Linked DNA regions of Homo sapiens: regions 1, 2, 3, 4, 5 and 6 are each linked to region 7. The links are contacts of gene promoters, found by promoter capture Hi-C in blood cells and fetal thymus (Javierre and others, 2016). All regions are on one chromosome and are shown on one strand. The core of a region is centred on a gene start or on the middle of the fragment in contact, and the rest is flanking DNA. Distances in the headings are between cores, read along the strand shown.

The links. The method cuts DNA at HindIII sites, captures the fragments that hold promoters and counts their contacts. A CHiCAGO score of 5 or more calls a contact.
Region 1: a fragment that was not itself captured here is called in contact with the fragment with the promoter of GJA8 in region 7 in 5 of 17 cell types (fetal thymus, non-activated CD4 T cells, total CD8 T cells and 2 more); the score reaches 9.6 in fetal thymus.
Region 2: a contact is called between a fragment that was not itself captured here and the fragment with the promoter of GJA8 in region 7, in 1 of 17 cell types (neutrophils). The highest score is 7.0, in neutrophils.
Region 3: a fragment that was not itself captured here is called in contact with the fragment with the promoter of GJA8 in region 7 in 2 of 17 cell types (neutrophils and fetal thymus); the score reaches 8.8 in neutrophils.
Region 4: a fragment that was not itself captured here is called in contact with the fragment with the promoter of GJA8 in region 7 in 1 of 17 cell types (erythroblasts); the score reaches 6.0 in erythroblasts.
Region 5: a contact is called between a fragment that was not itself captured here and the fragment with the promoter of GJA8 in region 7, in 1 of 17 cell types (neutrophils). The highest score is 9.9, in neutrophils.
Region 6: a fragment that was not itself captured here is called in contact with the fragment with the promoter of GJA8 in region 7 in 1 of 17 cell types (neutrophils); the score reaches 8.0 in neutrophils.

The regions. Positions count from the first base shown.
Region 1 is chr1:148,817,548-148,820,247 of GRCh38, reverse strand. It overlaps a transcript of PDE4DIP not described here. Among named protein-coding and RNA genes, the nearest start is that of PDE4DIP, 26 kb to the left of the region's middle. The HindIII fragment of the contact is 922 bases long and covers 913-1,834 here.
Region 2 is chr1:147,198,951-147,201,650 of GRCh38, reverse strand. FMO5 (flavin containing dimethylaniline monoxygenase 5) reads left to right here. Exons shown (of 9, transcript NM_001461.4): 7 at 147-499. It also overlaps a transcript of CHD1L not described here. Among named protein-coding and RNA genes, the nearest start is that of FMO5, 25 kb to the left of the region's middle. The HindIII fragment of the contact is 8,057 bases long and covers 1-2,700 here.
Region 3 is chr1:147,255,666-147,258,365 of GRCh38, reverse strand. It overlaps CHD1L (chromodomain helicase DNA binding protein 1 like), which reads right to left. Exons shown (of 23, transcript NM_004284.6): 4 at 2,439-2,553; 5 at 1,804-1,835. Among named protein-coding and RNA genes, the nearest start is that of CHD1L, 14 kb to the right of the region's middle. The HindIII fragment of the contact is 5,587 bases long and covers 1-2,700 here.
Region 4 is chr1:147,333,801-147,336,500 of GRCh38, reverse strand. No RefSeq gene overlaps it. Among named protein-coding and RNA genes, the nearest start is that of CHD1L, 92 kb to the right of the region's middle. RefSeq lists an enhancer at 1-298. The HindIII fragment of the contact is 890 bases long and covers 865-1,754 here.
Region 5 is chr1:147,221,266-147,223,965 of GRCh38, reverse strand. The region is part of intron 2 of FMO5 (flavin containing dimethylaniline monoxygenase 5); the gene reads left to right. It also overlaps a transcript of CHD1L not described here and the pseudogene RPL7AP15. Among named protein-coding and RNA genes, the nearest start is that of FMO5, 2.7 kb to the left of the region's middle. The HindIII fragment of the contact is 1,158 bases long and covers 859-2,016 here.
Region 6 is chr1:147,150,794-147,153,493 of GRCh38, reverse strand. No RefSeq gene overlaps it. Among named protein-coding and RNA genes, the nearest start is that of PRKAB2, 20 kb to the left of the region's middle. The HindIII fragment of the contact is 7,200 bases long and covers 1-2,700 here.
Region 7 is chr1:147,901,518-147,904,217 of GRCh38, reverse strand. GJA8 (gap junction protein alpha 8) reads right to left here and starts at 1,423. Exons shown (of 2, transcript NM_005267.5): 1 at 1,357-1,423. The HindIII fragment of the contact is 6,753 bases long and covers 1-1,681 here.

The sequences.
Region 1 (2,700 bases), core at 124-2,623, 920 kb before region 7:
TAAGAGATATAAACAGATTTCGGCCGAGCTCAGTGGCTCACACCTGTAATCCCAGCACTTTGGGAGGCCGAGGCGGGCGGATCATGAGGTCAGGAGATGGAGACCATCCTGGTTAACACGGTGAAACCCCATCTCTACTAAAAAATACAAAAAATTAGCCGGGTGTGGTGGCGGGCGCCTGTAGTCTCAGCTATTCGGGAGGCTGAGGCAGGAGAGTGGCGTGAACCCAGGAGGCGGAGCTTGCAGTGAGCCAGATCGCGCCGCTGCACGCCAGCCTGGGAAACAGAGCAGGACTCCGCCTCAAAAAAAAAAAAAAAAAAAAAAAAAAAAAGATATAAACAGATTTCAATATTAAGTTAAATAAAAGAAGAAAGATAAATCTGTTCAAACTTACACAGCATACTAAAAAGATATGCTTTTAAATGTCTTCTCTGTCCTATGATTCAGAATAAACTAGAGGTCAGGAGACAGTTCCATGAGATATCCTTTTGGATATCCCAAACTAAATTAATTCTCTCCTTTCCCTGACATCTGCTTCTCATACCATATTATCTATCTCAGTTAATGAAATTACTATTTACTCTCTGACTGGCCTAGGAATTTGTTTAGACAGAGTTTACTTGTCTAGAGTAATAAACTGGAGAATAACATTTGTTTCCACCATCTCCCTCATTTCCCACACTCAATTAATCAAAAAATCCTATCAGTTCTAACTCAAATTCTCCAACCTATCTCTTCCTCGCCATTCCCAATACCAATGCCTGTGTTCAGGCCCTTATTACCTTTGGCCGTGAACCACTTGCAACAGTTTCTCAGTGATCTTCACTCAATCCACTTAAGCCCATCTCTCACACGATTGCCACACTTACAACTCTAAAACAAAGATCTATGTCTGCCAGACTCTTCTTTAAAAGCTTCTATAATTCCACACTGTCTACAAAAATAAAAGCCAACCGCCTCTGTGTCTTAGCTGAAATGACAGAATACAAAAGTTTCTCAGAATGATTTATAAATGCAACCTTTTCTTTAATATGGAGGTTCTTTAACCCTGGTATACATGAGAAAACTTGTAGTGCATTTAAAGAACACTGATGCTAAGACCTCAATCTGAAAAAGTCTGATTTAATTGGTCTGGAATGAAGCCTTACATCAGCTTTTTAAAGACCTCCCCCAAATAATTCTAATATGTAGTCAGGGTTGAAAACTACTAATTTATAACGTGGCTAGAAAGACACTTCTACTTCCAGACAGCATGCGGTAATAGGGTTGGTATTCATTCCCCTTCACCCCTGACAGAAATTACTAAAAAATAGGACAAGATATATAAAATAATTATTTTCAGACACTGGATGTCAGACAACATAGGAAAGTTATCCAAGAGAAGAGAGAAACAAGCAAAGTAAGCCATACAACTGTCCTACTTAACTGCCCCAGAGCTCACAGAGAGGGAATCCAGGCAGAGCCTGGTGATCTGCCTGAGTTGAAGAGATCATGCAGAGATTTGAGAAGGCCAAGGCAGGTAGAGTTCATGGGGAAGAGTACCAGAAAGAATAGAAAATTCCAGAGATCTGTGGAGAGTCTCCTTGAATATTCAGCTGAATACTGATCGGTATATCAGGAAACTACCAAGGTTGGGGTAAGAACCACACAAGAGAATCAGATTAAACAATCCTCTTGGCTCATACAAGGCTGGAAGTAGTTTGTTTCATCATCTACTAAAGTGGGAAAAGCCTCATAATTAACAGGATATTGGCTAGAGTACTTAGAAGGGTATCACCCAAGTAATGGGGAAAATTAATCATCTTTAAAAAGTTGCTTGGGTTCCCCATAATGAAGCTTAAGATCAAGAAGGATCTGTTTCCAACTAACTGTGACCCAGAATAAAGCTCAATAATGTTTATGGGAATGCAAAACTATCTAACACCCAATATGTAAAATGTTTAATGTGTGGTATCAAATCAAAGTATTGCCAGGTGTGCAAAGAAGCAGGAAACAGTACTTAAAATGAAGAGAAAAATCAATTACCAGAAACATACTCAGAACTGAACAAATGTTAGAATTGTTATTATAGTATTTTAAATGTTCAAGAAAGTAGAACAAAGATTGATAAAATGAAGTAAAATATTAATACATGGGCGGGGCACAGTGCCTCACGCCTGTAATCCCAGCACTTTGGGAGGAGGCGGGCAGATCACCTGAGGTCAGAAGTTTGAGACCACCCTGGCCAACATGGTGAAACCCCATCTCTAATAAAAATACAAAAATTAGCCAGGCGTGGTGGTGGGTGCCTGTAATCCCAGCTACTCAGGAGGCTGAGACAGGAGAATTGCTTGTACCCGGGAGGCAGAGATTGCAGGTTGCAAGGAGCTGAGACCGTAACATTGACAAGAGTGAAACTCCATCTCAAAAAAAAAGAAAAAAAATTAATACATGAAAGTTACAAACTTCTAGAGATGAAAAAGACAATATCTGAGATGAAGAATACACTGGATGGAATTAACAACAGATTAGACACTGTAGAAGAAAAAGTTAGTGAACTTAAAGACATAGCAATGAAAATGATCCAAAAATAAAACAAGAGAAAGAAGACAAAAAGTGAACAGAGCATCAGTGATCAATGGGAAAAATTTAAATGACCTAATATATATGTAACTGAAGTCCCTAAAGGAATGGAGTTATAGAGGGCAACAAAAATTTTTG
Region 2 (2,700 bases), core at 43-2,542, 700 kb after region 7:
AAATTAGACCTTTTCCAAACTTCATGCATAGACCAAGGGGAAGATTATTGGCATCCTGTTTACCTCCACCAAAGCAAAATTTTACTTATGTGGTACTGATTTCTCTTTCTCTCATTTCTCCACTTGATCTTTGTCACGACTCACAGAGCTCTGAGTCAGCATCCAACCTTAAATGATGACCTGCCAAATCGTATCATTTCTGGCTTGGTGAAAGTGAAAGGAAATGTGAAGGAATTCACGGAGACAGCTGCCATATTTGAGGATGGCTCCAGGGAGGATGACATTGATGCTGTTATCTTTGCCACAGGCTATAGCTTTGACTTTCCATTTCTGGAAGATTCCGTCAAAGTGGTCAAAAACAAGATATCCCTGTATAAAAAGGTCTTCCCTCCTAACCTGGAAAGGCCAACTCTTGCAATCATAGGCTTGATTCAGCCCTTAGGAGCCATTATGCCCATTTCAGAGCTCCAAGGACGCTGGGCCACTCAGGTATTTAAAGGTAAGTGACCATGCAAATAGACTACTTAATTACTTGGTGATATGTTTACCTCTGTTTAGGTACTTGTTTTTAAATAGCTAGAGATAGCATGTATGATTACAACAGTGCCTAGCACAAAGTTAGTACAGAAAAATATATTTTTGAGTGAATCTAAAGTAGCAATTTATAACCATGGACATACATCATACCTGGGAAATTTTTCCAAGCTATGCATGCTTTGACACCATCCTTGCTGATGCTTATTTAGTTAGTCTGGGGTGGGGCAGTCATAACATCTTTGAGAAAAATATTCCCCAGTAATTCCAATGTGTACTCCAAATTAGAATTTACTCATCTAGATTTTAGGCAACTGGCATATATTTCTGAAGTAAAATAGTTTTATCTTCTTTCATTATAGATAAAAATAAAATATAGAAATAGTATGACTTTATTTCGGCCGAAAATTAAGACCTGGTTGCAGACTAGTCAATATTGTAGGATATTCAATCCCCCAAATTCTCACTTTTCTCCTTTTATGTCCCCTCTTTCAGTTTTGGCTAGGAATATATGAAAAAAAAAGGGGAATAGGTTTCATATGAGTCAGTAGAATGATATAGCTTCCAAAGAAATAATTAAATCTAGCATCATTAAAAAACTATAATGTTCTAGAACATTACAACTGTTGTTCTCTAAACTGGCCAGACCACACCTAATGATACATTTTAAAAGTGAAGCTGGAGTGCGTTTAATAAGGAGAGAGAGAAAAATTTTTTAAGGGATTTGAAAACATGCCATCTGAAGTACAACTGAAAAAGCCGGAGAGAGATTTAGCCTGGAGAAGATAAACTTCAGGAGAGATATGAGAATTTCCTTCAAATATCTGAAGGGAAGGCACATGGAAGAAGGATTAGATTTACTCAGTATAGCTTCAAAGGGTCAAACCAGAATCAAGGAGTGAAATCTTGAGGGTTACACATCAGCTTACCATTAAGAAAAAAATCCAAAACCTTTTTCCTATCAGCCAATGCCATTTCATGATGGAACCAGCTGCCTCTGAAATTCTAAGCAGAAAAGGAAAAGGATGCCAAATGACTGAATGCTCACTGGGCCGGGGCAGGAGAGGGGGAAGGTATGGAGTAGATTCAAGCCTCAGGATAGAGAGAAACAAGATGATGTTTAAGGGTCCTTCTAAAGAAGAAATTCACTGATTCTATGGTTGTTATAACAAAATTTGCTATTGTTACTAGCATTTAATTAAAACTACTCAGAGTTCCTGTTGGAATTACACCTTTTTTGTTTTCACTAGTGAAAATCTTCACAGTTGCAGAGAAAAAAAGAACCAATGGTATTACAGTTGATAGTTCAACAACCTTTCTAAATTTCCCCAAATTTCTATTACTTCCAGTCCTATCCAGCAGATTATGTACTACCTGAGAGAACTATACAAGTAGTCAAACGCAAATAGCCCATTAAGTTGGCCTAATTCTAGTCATATTAAAGTGATCTTTTAATTGGGTCAATTACATAAGCGGAGAACAGTTCATTAAAACAGGCCACAGCATCTTAGTATACTTTAAGCAACTGGGACTCTTTTCCAAGACCAAGTGAATTCTTGAGAGGAAATAGAGAAAATGAGTATTTGCAAGAGTCTGCATTATGGTTATGAGATTATGGGATCTTAGGGAAAATGTACAAAAAGCCCAGCTTCCTATGCTAGCAGAAGCCTAGTGCTAATTCCTCCAGCTTTTTTCTAACACCTGGAAGGAAGAAATCTTCAGAATTCTCTAACTTTACCAGACTTCCAACAGGAACTCTGGGTTTTTTATTCTGTCCATGGCCAATCTGTCTGCCTCCCACATTCTTGCCTTTCTCTTCCCTGAATTATCCCTTCACTATGCCAATTTTAAACCCTTTGGATTAGCTTGTTTTTCCCATTTTTTTCATGTCTGCCCAACAAAGCCTGCCTCCTTCCTTGTCTGTTCCCTACCAAGCCCCATTTTCCTTCTTCTTCTGTTCTCTGGAATTATTGTTCTCTTGTCAAGAAAATATTCTACTCTTTTCTAGAACACTGAATTTACTTCCTTGCCTTGACTGAAATGAAACATAGTTTCTGTTTTGATTGCGTCTTTTGCAGCCCTTGCAAGTGTTTTATTTTCACTCAGCAACTTTCTTTCCTTCAAAACTATATCAAGTTACACCAAATCTCTGGATCACAAGAAGTC
Region 3 (2,700 bases), core at 95-2,594, 650 kb after region 7:
GTTCAGTGAAACAGGCTACAGAGTGGTGGATTTTGGCTCATGAAAGGAAGTGGGTCAAATCACTTATCAAAGGATACTCTAAATGATGTCCCCTGAAGAGGAAAAGATGGGGGAAATCCAGCACTGAATGGAAAGTTGGATGAGGTAACTTCTAATCCTCTTGATCCAAAGAGTTTTACAAGTCTATTGTCCAAAACATTTCAAATTTTTCATATTTGTAACATGCACAGCCTTAACTCTCCATAATAAATCTCTTTAGGGCAGAGATGATATTACACTTCCCTGCTATTCTCAGAATGTACAATACAGCAATAAGCAATATAACCTTCCAAATATATTGAAAGAATGTATCTATGTTGTTGGGATTCATACTACAGGACAGCATTATAAATGTCCCTCTGTTACTTAGGTTTTTAAATCTACCTGAAAATGCACTGAAAACCGATTATCTGAAATAGAAAGATTCTATTTCTGCTGAATAATGTAAAACTCCAGTACAACTAGCTATTTTGAGAAGTTCTCTTAAAAAGAGGCTCCACAGCACCAAATGCTGGGTTTAAATGTCTGCTCTGCTATTTATCATCAGCAATGTAACCTTGGATGGGTTACCAAATCTCTTATTTTCCTCACCCGTAAAATGAATAATAGCTGCCTCGTGGGGTTTTCATGAAAATTAAATGGGATAATTTATGTAAAGTACCCAGCAACATTTATGTCCCAATTTTATTATCTTTTGAGACTTCCCATATATTGCTATGTATTATGGATATCTGTACACTTCTCATCCCTCCACTGGAGTTTGTCTTCTTAGGGAAGCTCTATGATTTACTTTCCTGATATTGCCAATAACTCTCAGAACAATGTCTTTCCAGTGACTGACTTTCAACAAATATTAAGTTGAATATTAATAATAAAAAGAGAGGGAATGTATATCTTAAGAAAAATAAGATAATATGCTCACTTAAATGAAATACTAGATAGAAGTCATGAAATCTATGACCTAGCCTCTAGTATTTCAAAATAACATGAAAATAGAAATCCAGCTCACAGGAACCTGGATAAGAAATAACATTTAAAATATTGATAAAATACTTTGAAAACAAAGATTTTTGAATATTAAAATACAGAATATCCACCTAACCATGTAATAACTACAGAGGTTATAGAGAATGAAACCCTGTCAACATATCTTTCTTACCTAAACTCTAGCCCTTATTTAATCTGCATTGTAACTGTTATCTTGACATGATCCTATCATTCCCATTATTAGGTGGTATTGCTGAGTTTCTGATTTCATGGGCCAATATGAGGTTAACTAATTAGAGGTACACTTAAAACTCCCTTTCTAAAAAGTTAATTCCACGGCACTGATTGCTATTTTAGGTTATGTCCAGCAAACAGCTCAAATGGTTCTCCTTCTGTATTACAGCAAACTCTCCAAATGGTAGTACTGAAAGGGGTCTATGCAAGTTGCATGTAAAGAGCCTAATATCTATTAACCATACAAAGTATATTTAATCTCATTTAATTTTCGTAACAGCTATTTGAGGTAAGAAACAATTATCCTCATTTTACAGATGAAGAAGCTGAAGTTCATGGAGATTAAATAACTAACCCAAGGACACACAGCTAATGAGTAGAGGACTGTAAACACAGGACTCCCACCATGCCGCCTACCCATAAACAGAACTCATGGAAGACATACCAGACATGCCAGGAGAGGCAAAGTACTAAAACGTGAAGGAAAGACATGACATTCATAATACATTCAACCCAAGTTCTTAAATAGTACAACCTACTCACGATTTTAGAAATGATGCATCTTTCAAGCAAATCTGAAAAATTAGGAAGACACGTTATAAAGGCTGGCATTGATAAACTCTGATATTGATAAGCTAGTTTTCTGTGAACTCTCTTAAACTATAGGATTTATCTAAGTCTCATTTGTTCACTAAGTAAAAAAAAGTTCTGAGAATAATTTCTAAGTAGCGCCATCTTAAAAACAAAGAGAAAAGCCTGATTAAGTGGAAGGTCAGTGGCACACACTGTCTTAGACTGAAAAACAAGGATTTAAAATAAGGCCGGAGCTGTCTTCCATTCCTATCCTCCAGTAACAGACGTGATTCCTCAGTCCACAAAACCCTTTCCCCTGCCTGCCTGCCTGACTTCTGTTCATCAACCAAGAGGCAGCTCAAGTGCCACTTCCTTGAGAAGCCTTCCCCCTTGATCCACCAAGAAAGGAAAAGATCGAACTAATCTGAAGCACAATGATCCTTCACTTCTTTTGGTTACAGCCCTCTTTTGAGAATCTGATGAAGGTAGACTCCCTGCCCAGAAAAGTGTGTGCTCTCAACAAAACTTAAATATAATTTCAGCAGACTCTACAACTTCTAAGGTCACAGGTTAGGAGTTCTCGCTATAGAGAAACGAATGAATACCTCATAGGTAGTCAGTAGCACATGAAAACGTGACTCCTGTTTCAGGTCTTGCTGAAGGCAGGCTCTTTCCTCCTTGTCGCCTGCATATGTTACACAGGAAAGACCTGGAGCAAATCTGAATCCAAGAAAAGAAGTAGATAAACATAAATACTAGATCCATGTGACAGGATGTGCATATCTGGAAAATTACATTTCATGGGAGGATTGCAATGTACAGAACTCATGAGGTCCTACAACCAGAGTCTTGGGGCTCTGAATCTTA
Region 4 (2,700 bases), core at 60-2,559, 570 kb after region 7:
AGAAACCACTCAGCCCTTAACAGCATGTCCACGTTACCAAAGCATTTGAATCAGTTCACCATAAGGCAGTAAGCTCTCCTTTAAAAGGCTCATCCTTCACAGTTCTTGGCTGTTTGAATTTTCTCTTTCCTTCGTCACCCTTAAACTTAATTACACAGCAGCTGAAAAAGAAGACCTCTCTTGACCAAAATTTAAGGATAAAAATGTGGGATTATACAACAAATAACTATAATAAAATGTGGTCACTCTAAAATCCACACAAGAATAAAGAACACAGGAAAAAGGGGAAACACAGGAAAAAGGGCAATTTATTTTGTCCTAGGGACTTGGAAGAGGAAGAGTTGGTTAAAGCTTCATAAAAGAGAAAATGTTTCAGCTGTAATTTGTCTTCCTCCTCTATTCCTAAATGATAAATTATATTCTTTTTGGGAAATTAAAAAAATACATTTTTTAATTACAAGAAAAATATATATTTACAGAAATTACAAAAGCACCATAAGAGTTTGGATTCCAGTCCTCCACTCTTCACGGGTGAGCAACCATGAAGCTTCTGAGGACACTCTGTAATCTTGAGTACAGGGGTTTTGGAAACCAAGTGATGAAGACAGCATTTGTTATAATCAGGCCTTTAAAAACAAAACACTGTAAAGAACACTAAATGGGAATGGGAAAGTGGGAAGAGAGGGAAACTGTCCAGCTAATTCATTTGTAACTCTTGCCAGCCTCAGTCCAGACTTGCCAGAGGATCTTTGCTAGGTTATGGATTTTAGGTGTTTTCATTAAGGACTATCTGGAATAGAGCCTCATTCCTCCTCTACCCCAGAAGGCAACAGTCACTGATTCACACTTCATATCCCTTAAGCTTGCATGACTTAATTTCTTTCTTCCCATTAAGTTAGAATTAAAAAAAAACTCTTATTAGTTTCCTCCAAGGGTTTTGGAAAGATAAAGGAAACTGTCAAGTCTTAAGAGTGTCATAAACCTTGGGGACACACATGGCACTCAAATACTAGAGATGATGTCTAATGATACCATTTTCAAAAATGTCTTTCATTATTTTGCCATGTCCTGAAATCCCATAAAAGCATAACAGAAATGAGTTTGGGATTTTACTAAATTAAAATTTGTAAAGAAGGAGGAAAAGGATGATAATGATAATGTCGTTGATTTTCATTATTGTTCATTGCAAATTCCACGAAAAAGTAAAATATTAGTCAAGATGCAAAATTAGATGACCCTGTAGTCAAGAAGGCAAGGTAAGGTGCTTAAAATTTAACGAGACTGATGAAAGCAGAAAGAACATCAATCAAAATCTCAAGTTGTACATTGGCAGCACTTTCTGTGCTATCTCCCAAGTTTTTCTAGGGCTCCACCTATTACACTTGGAATCACCGACATTGCTGAAAGCATTTTAAAGGCATTAATTATCTAACTTACTGTCTTAATTACCTATGCTCATCTCAGGAGAATTGCAAAGGGATAGGCATCAGGAACACTTCTTTGGTGAGAGAAAACCAAGTGACAAAAGAGAAGCGTTTGTCCTAACACATCTAAAAGGCAGGTTGGAAATAACAGGTAGACTCAAGTTTGGTTCAGCCCAAATTAAAAAAAAATGCCATTCTCCTCATGCATTGACACCAAAATATTCACCTTCACCTACAAAATGATATTTTTTTCTGGCATGATTTTTTTCCCTTCGTTCAGCCTCAGAGATAATACTAATGATTACCAGTGATGGTAGTGAAAGCCAAGCTTAATCACCATAATTGACAATTAAGTTGGGTAACAACACAGAGACAGGTGATTTCACACAAGGCTAATGAAAATGGGCTATTAAAATCCACACACGTTTGGCAGCAATTATGAGCTCCTGGAGCCATTTGCTTTGAAATGTGCACATTTCACAGGTGGCTGCCTGCCAACAAGACAACTTTGAGCAGGACCGAGAAAGCAAGAGGAAAAGACAGAGTTGCCGGAGATTTTCTTAAGTGCCATTGCTTTTCAGTGGCTTGCTGAATCCTTATCACTACAGGCCAGATATTTTAAAGCCAAAGAAATATGCAAAGTTCACAGCTGCAGAGAATGACAGACATCCCATTTTCCTATAGAACCACGATGGAATTGGCAGAGGACAAGGGAGTGGGCACTAGCGAATACAGAAGGGCAAAGTAGAGAGGATTCCATGAAATAAGTGCTGGACCATGTAAGAGAGGCCTGGAGCCTGGATGTCTTGTCTGGAGTACACAGAAGATACTTAACAGTTTTCACAAAATGTGAAATGGAAGTAATAATCCCTGCTTCCCAAATATGATAGTATGGTTAAATGAGTTCAGTTCCTTGAAGGGCACTTGAATTCAGAGGCTGAGGTTACTTTGCTGCAGTTTCATGCATCTCCTAGCTCCCTGCTCTTACTCTCTTATATCAGGATGCCACCATTCTGCTCAAAGCCCCTCTCCTTTAAGCTCTTTACTGTCTGAATATGCCAGTTAGTAGGGAAGTTAGTCAACTTTTTTTAATGACAGGAAACCAAATAACAAACAGTGGTGAGAACTTGCCTGAAAATAGACTGGGAATCACATCTGTATTCAAATACAATAGTCGAATCTTGTTTTTTAGCCACTCTGACAATCTTTTAATTGGTACATTTAGACCATTCTCACTTAAAGTGATTATTGATATTGTCGAATCAATATTTACTGT
Region 5 (2,700 bases), core at 188-2,687, 680 kb after region 7:
GCTGGAAAGACGGGTGGTGTCTCGATGGGGGTATCCCCTTTGCTAGCAGCTTTCTTCTCAGTCCAGGACAACAGTCTCTGCTTCTTCTCTTGTTTTGTCTCTGGTCTGTGCTTGTGGGCCCGCGTAAGCAGTCAGTAGCTGTTTGGCAGTGCGAAGCCTGGGTGAACTGGTTAATGGCAGGAAGTGCTTTCAGCAGCTTATAAAAGGATAGCTCTTTGCTGCTGCAACCTGATATAGGGGGGCCATCTGACAAAGAGGGTGAGGTCTCTTTGGGGCTGTATGTCCTGTCCAATGCCAAAATTCTTAGGCTTTTTCTCAAACAGAGGATTCACAACTTTTTTGTCTTCCTGCTTCTTCACTGATAGCAGGGGCGGGGGCCGCCTTCTTTCCCTTAGCCTTCTTTCCTATTGGCATCTTGGGTGGCTAGAGGAGAACGGGTTTGCTTTTAAGCTAGTTTTCTGAACATTTAATAGTATTGAGGTGCCCTAGATAAGTTTTACGTTTCATATTTCATAAAAACTAACACATTGTTGGCCAGCTACATAAAAGTGGCTTTATAGCATTTCTTAGTTGAACCGAAATACAATCCTTTTGCACCCTGACTCTGTTTTGGGGACTAATTTTATGTGACAATCATCCTTATTCAGATCTGGAGTGGATCCCCTTAGCTGACCTGCATACGTGTATCATCATCAGTCTTGGACATGGGCTAAAAGCCTGTTGTTTTTAGTAAACAGCAGAAAATTCTGCTCTTAAAATCCAGCCACAATATGGTATGGAGGTTAAGAATGCAGTCTTAGGCTCAAACCTTATTTCTGTCACCTACTAGCAGTGTGACTTTGGGCACATCATTAAGCTTCTCTGTACCTGTGTTTCTTCATCTTTAAGAAGTGGATAATAATAGTATCCACTTTATAGAGTTATTGTCAGGAGTAAGTGAATGGATAATTATGCCAATCACTTACAACAGTGCCAGGAACATAGTGTTACATGTTGGTTATTATTCAGTAGGCCTAGGATGGGACTCACACATGTGGTGTCTTTACTAAGCATCTTAGCCAGTTTTGGCAGTTACTGAAAAGGCATGAAATCAATTGAGGATGGGAGGAGGTTGGGAGGGCATCCATCATCTTGTCTGATTATCAAGTTTCTGGTTTTTATCTCCAATGTGGTTTAAACTTATTCTCTGCTAAAGACTTAACGTGGAGGTTTTTCTTCTGATTATCCACTTGGCAAAATTTTAACACTTTGTAAACTGCTTCCTTGAAAATAAATAAGCTGTGTTTCATCATAACGCTCTGACTTCTGTTCCAACAGACCACACCTGTGTGGTTCACCGTTATATTTCTAGAGCCAAGCATGTATTCTACTATCTCCATTTTTTAAAGCTCCCCAGATGATTCCAATGTGCAGACAACAGTTCAAAGAGAGTTTCTATTCCATGGGATTTTGAAAATCTGACAGGAACAGAAGCCCCAAACTGTCCTCATTCCTCCCATTTAAATTTTTCTCCTTTCTTCTGTCCTTATTACTTCTTCCAATCCCATCAGTTCCAATTTCCCCAACTTCCATCCCCTGCTCTCTCTCTCTTTTCTTTTTAGGCAGAGTCTCACTCTGTTACCCAGGCTGGAGTATAGTGGCGTGATCTCAGCTCACTGCAACCTCTGCCTCCTGGGTTCAAGTGATTCTCATGCCTTAGCCTCTCAAGTAGCTGAAATTATACACGCACTACTACGCCTTGCTAATTCTTGTATTTTTAGTAAAGATGGGGTTTCACCATGTTGGCCAGGCTATTCTCGAACTCCTCACCTCAAGTGATCTGCTCACCTCGGCCTCCCAAGGTGTGGGGATTACAGGCATGAGCCACCGTGCCTAGCCTCTCTTTTCTTACACAGACTTCCTGCTCAAATGTGTGAGCCTTGTGCCTAGGTAGGAAATATAATCAGTGTATAGAGTTTGTAGAGAGAAGATTTATTCATCAATGGTAGAAAATTGTAAAATGCAGGAGCAGAAGCTTCTTTTTCTTCTACTCACTAACCCAATACTGCTCTGTGCTCACTCTTTTGGAAAGCAGTGGATTGGCACAGTGGTAAACCTTACCTAAGTTCCAATCAGGTGTTTCGAAGGATTTGAAGGATGTTGTTGACACAGGATAACACTTGTTGTGGTTAGTGATTTGAAAAAGAGTTGAAATATAGGAGTACCTCAAAGAGGTGAGATCTGTCATTCATTTCACTCAGTGATCCCAACAGACCTGCTGTGGATAGGATGGCTCTACTCTTTGTAAACGTTGAACTTTTGGAATACACATACAGACTTGCATTTATCAGTACCTCATAAAGTATTTTATTACAGAGGGACTTTCTAAATATCTCTTGAATGAATAAATGAAATGAAATTCAGAAGTTAGGAACATGCCTCACCTGCTCTCCATACAGCAAACATCTTAATTCCAAAATGACCTTGCCATTCATTAATTTACCTTAATTAAAAAATATATACACTTATGTACAAACATGTTTAAATAAGCTTTTAATTTTAGAACAGTTTTAGACTTACAAAATTTATTAGGAAGATAATACAGAGAATTACAGTACACCTCATGTCCAGTTACCCCATTTTACATTAGTATGATACGTTTTTAAATAATGAATGAACCAATATTGATACATTATTATTAACTGAAGTCCATACTTTATT
Region 6 (2,700 bases), core at 87-2,586, 750 kb after region 7:
CTAAACTATAACCTACAACTCTAACTTATTTTTTTTGAGGGGTGGGGGGGAAATCTCTGTTATTGATTACAATAGTTGTGGATCACTTACAAGTTAGATATAGCGATTGGGTAGTGGAATGGGTGTTGGATGCAACAGGATCTTGGAAAATATTTCTGGGGGTTAGAGGATAGGCTGAGAATATTATAGATGTTTGGAAACATTTGTGCCAACCTGAAGATGGTGTTTCTTTGTCTCTCCCAATTAGCACAGCTGTGTTCTGTTGGTCATCTGGTAGAGTGATCAATCTAGAGTTAGAATACCTAGGGATGACATAAAGGAATATGACAGTCCGGAAATCTACCAGATGAAGAGCCAGTCTGAGCTCAGAGGGGATTTTGAGCCAAGGCATGGCATTTTATTTTTAGATGGAGCTGAACATTGTGATAGTAACCAGCACTAGATGAACTAAAGTTCAGGAGGAAAAGCGGAACTATCCAAGGTGAACTGAGATTACTAGCCATTTTATCCCCTGGGCCCATTTGCTTACTCTGCACGTGGAGTTAGGACTGACCTTTGCCCAGACACAGGGTGTTTGATGGGGTCAAATGACATTAAATACCAAGCACTGGATCCCTAAAATATGGGAAACAAATGAGGTGAGCCCTTTAGTTGCCCAGGTTACATGCTGAAGGGAAACTAAGATTGCAGATGGAATCAAGTTTGCTAATCAGCTGACCTTGAGATGCAAATATTACCCTGGATTATTTAGTTAGGCCCAATCTAATAAGTGCAAGAGGGAAGTCAGAGTGATAGGACATGAAAAGAACTTGACTTGCTGTTGCTGGCTTTTGAAGATGAGAAAAGAGAACTATAAACCCAGGAATGTGGTAGCCTTAGGAGCAAGGAAATGGATTCTCTCTCAGAGCCTCCAGGAAGAAACACAATGGCTTTATTTTAGTTCAGTAGTCTTTTTTTTTTAATTTTATTATCATCATACTTTAAGTCTTAGGGTACATGTGCACAACGTGCAGGTTTGTTACATATGTATACATGTGCCATGTTGGTGTGCTGCACCCATTAACTCGTCATTTAGCATTAGGTATATCTCCTAATGCTATCCCTCCCCCCTCCCCCCACCCCACAACAGTCCCCAGAGTGTGATGTTCCCCTTCCTGTGTCCATGTGTTCTCATTGTTCAATTCCCACCTATGAGTGAGAACATGTGGTATTTGGTTTTTTGTTGTTGCGTTACTGACCCATTTGGATGTGGAAATACAGAAGTGTAAGACAATAAATTTGTGTTGTTTTAAGTCACTAAGTTTGTTGAAATTTGTCAACAGCAGTGATAGGAAATGAATACAACATGTCTATGGTCTGATCTAATATCTTAAATCAAGAGCCATAGGATCAAGTTGTTTCCAAGTAACTTACCTGCATCCTAGAACAAAGCTCAAGAATATTTATAGGAAAACAAAAATGTTCAGCACCAAACAAGAAAAAGTTTATCATATCCGACATCGGAAAAAAACTGAGGCACTCAAAAAAATAGAAAAATCAAACCATTATGAGAAAAAAAAAAATCCATCAATTGAAATTGACTCAGAACTGTTACATGAGGGTAGAAATAGCAGACAGTTGAAACAATAATAAGTTTATAAGTTCAAAAGCTGGAGAAAAAAGCAAACATGTTTATATATATATATAAATATGTAAGTGTGTTTTATCACGTCTGAAAGACCCAAATTGAACTTTATAGATTAAAACTACAAATCATGAGAAGAAAAGTAAACTGGATAGGCTGAACATTAGATTAGACATTGCAAAGAAAGATTATACTTGAAAGACGTAAGAATAGAAACTACACAAAATAAAACTGAAAAAGGGCTTAAAAATGAACAACACATCAGTGAATTGTGGAAAAACTTCAAGTGGCATAATAATTGGTACTATGTGTGTCCCCTCCAAAATTCATGGTGAAACTTAATCTCCATTGTGGTGGTATTAATTGGGGCCTTTTAGGAAGAGATTAGGTCTTGAGGGGTCCTCCCATGTGAATGGGATTAAGGCATTTATAAAAGAGGCTTCACACAGAGTTTTGGCCTTTTTTGCCCTCTGCCTTCTACCATGTAAGAACACAGCAACAAGCAACCATCTTGAAAGTGAAGAGCCACTCTCACTAGACACCAGTGCCGGTGCCTTGATCTAGGGCTTCCCAGCCTCCAGAACTGCACAAAATAAATTTCTATTATTTCAAAATTGCATAGGCTGTGATATTTTGTTATAGAAGCAGAAATGGACCAAGACAACTGGAATACCCAAAAGAGGTACGAGAGGAATAGGACAAATATTAGTAGAAATAGTGACCCAAATTTCCCGAAATTTGATGGAACCTATAAAGCCACAGATCTAAGTAGCTCAATTAACCCCAAGCACAAGAAATAAGAAAATAAAACAACTAAATGAAGGCAAATCATAATAAAATCTCTCAAAACCCGTTAGAAAAATTGTAAAAGCAGCCAGAGGAGAAACAACTAGTTATGTACAAAGGAAGAAAGATAAGGGTGATAGCAGATTTATCATCAAAACAATTATAAGCTAGAACACAGTGGAGCAACATCTTTTAAGTACTGAAAGAAAAAAAACCCCTACAACCTGGAATTATTTACCCAGTGAAAATACGTTTCAAAAAGTGAAGGTGAAATAAGAACTTACATTAAA
Region 7 (2,700 bases), core at 174-2,673:
CTCATGCCTGTAATCCCAGCACTATGGGAGGCCGAGGTGGGAGGATCACTTGAGGTCAGGAGTTCAAGATCAGCCTGGCCAACAGGGTGAAACCCTATCTCTACTAAAAATACAAAAATTAGCTGGGCACGGTGGTGGGGCACCTGTAATCCCAGCTACTTGGGAGGCTGGGGCAGGAGAATTGCTTGAGCCCAGGAGGTGGAGGCTGCAGTGAGCTGAGATCACACCACTGCACTCCAGCCTGGGCAACACAGCGAGACTCTGTCTCAAAAAAAAAAAAAAAGAGTTATTAAATTACTAACTACAACTACAGTCTATTTTCATCATCATTTCATAAAAGGGGATTTTAACACCACAAAACTGGAGAGGACATAACTTCAGAATAAAAGACAAGCCTTTAAATTGAACACACTTAACTTGGTGAAACATTTACTACATTGTTAACTTTATCATTGTCACATTTTGGTCACAGGTTGTGGAAACCTTCATCTTGAGCTAGAACTGACAGATCCCCAGATGGATGTCTGAGAACCAGTGAACTTGGCATTATCAATCCCCATTACCAGACAAAAAGACAGGCTGGGAGGTGAAATGAGTCTCCAAGATGGGGGCTTAGCTAGTGAGGGCAGAGCTAGGCTGTGAGCCCTGGTCTTCTAGATCTAAGCCCATTACAGCATAGCCCTCCTCTGGTTTTGAAGAGGCAGAATAACACATATACATCCATTAATAAGTTATCCAAAGCGTTCAATGGCCACTTACCACTCTGGTTGGTAACCAGGTGGAAAGTGCCTCTTTTCTAGTTTCTAGAACAGCCACTAGCCAGCAGTTCTCATAGATAGACAACAGAACCTGCTCCTAGGAGGAATTTTATGGTCCTTAGCCAGATCCCTTCCTGTGCTCCATTAAATGCTCCAACATGGAAAATGCTGAGCACGAAGCCTCCGCTACCCCCACAGCATTCAGTAATTATGACTATTATTTCTATTGTAGAATTTGAGTGAAAAGGGCACAAAACTTTTTCATAAATATCAAATACTTGGTTTAGGTCCCTGTGGATTCCTGTAGACATGAAAAGAGCTTAAGAAGTCAAATTGTAGTTTGAGTTTGGACATCTCTGTTTCCCCATCCTGCTGATTATTCCAGCATTCCTCTCCCTTCCAAACCTCTGCCAGTTCTTAGGTCAACTTGAAGAGGGTTTTCAGAGTTGGAGTGTAAGTCTAGCCATCCCAGCCCAAGACTGAATCTTATTGGCAACCTTTTTCCTTTTGGAGAAGCCTATATATGGCCCTTAGATTAGGCTGAGAAAGAACAATTGGGGGGAAGGTTACAAACTAATATCACCCAAGGAAAACTTGCCAATACAAGGAGTGTCCCACGGAGAAATATGTGCTCTTTCTCTCTTGGCGCTCAGCAGCAAAATGGCAACTTTCGTCTCTTTCCTTTGCTGCCTAAAAGCCCACCTCCCACTTCTCTACCCCGCCCCTACTGTGCTGCACGACTGAGCAGATATGACTGGATTGGCCCTGATGGGTAGGTTTTACTGTCCAGCAATATTTTAAGCTCCCAGCCAGACAGCTTTTATGAAGGGAGGGATGTTTGGGAAACAATGGGAGTGAGAGAATGGGAGAGCTGTGTTGGGCACTGAGGGGAGGAGGATGGGGAAAGCTGATGTGTGAAAGCTTAGCTGGGGCTTCTGTGCCTCCCAAAGTTTCTTTTAGCAGCAGACTGGGCCTGTACATCAGTAAACCTTTGGCGTCTCTCCAGAGCGCATGAGCCTAGGGGCATTTTCCCAAGGCCTTATCATCAGCTGGGAGAATCTTAATGATGTAGGGACAGTAAGTGGTCAGTTGTGTGAATCCCTCTGCCCTGAGTCACACCAAGAGTGGTTGGTCCTTTCCAAAGGACCATATTTCATTTTTTATTGGTGGTTTGCTCTTGTCTCTCAAAGCCTTCAGCAGAATTGTGGATATTAGAGGCTGGGAAGTGTAGTGGCGGAAGGAAGGATGGGGAGCATGTTGCTAATAGATACAAAAGCACAGCTAGATAGGGGGAATGGGTTCTGGTGGTCTGCAGTGCTGTAGGGTGAATATGGTTAACATTAATTAATTAATTATTTTAATTTTTATATTTTTGTGTGTGTGTGAGACAGAGTCTCGCTCTGCCACCCAGGCTGGAGTGCAATGTCACGATCTTAGCTCACTGCAACCTCTGCCTCTCAGGTTCAAGTTATTCTCCTGCCTCAGCCTCCTGAGTAGCTGGGATAACAGACACCCACAACCACGCCCAGCTAATTTTTTTTTTTCTATTTTTAGTAGAGACGGGGTTTCACCATGTTGGCCAGGCTGGCCTCAGACTCCTGACCTCAGGCGATCTGCCCGCCTTGGCCTCCCCAAATGCTGGGATTACAAGCATGAGCGACCATGCCTGGCCGTTAACTATTTTATTGTATAGTCTCAAAAAGCTAGAGGAGAGGATTTTGATTGTTCCCAACAGAAAGAAATGATAAATGTTTGAGATGCTGAATATGCTAATTATCCTGATTTGATCATTACACATTGTATACATGTATTGAAATATCACTGTGTATCACAAATACGTACAATTATTATGTGTCAACTAAACATAAAAGGAAAGAGCTTTCTAAAAAGATCAAAACAATAAAAAAGAAACACAAACAAACCTTCAGCAGGGTGGTCTCCC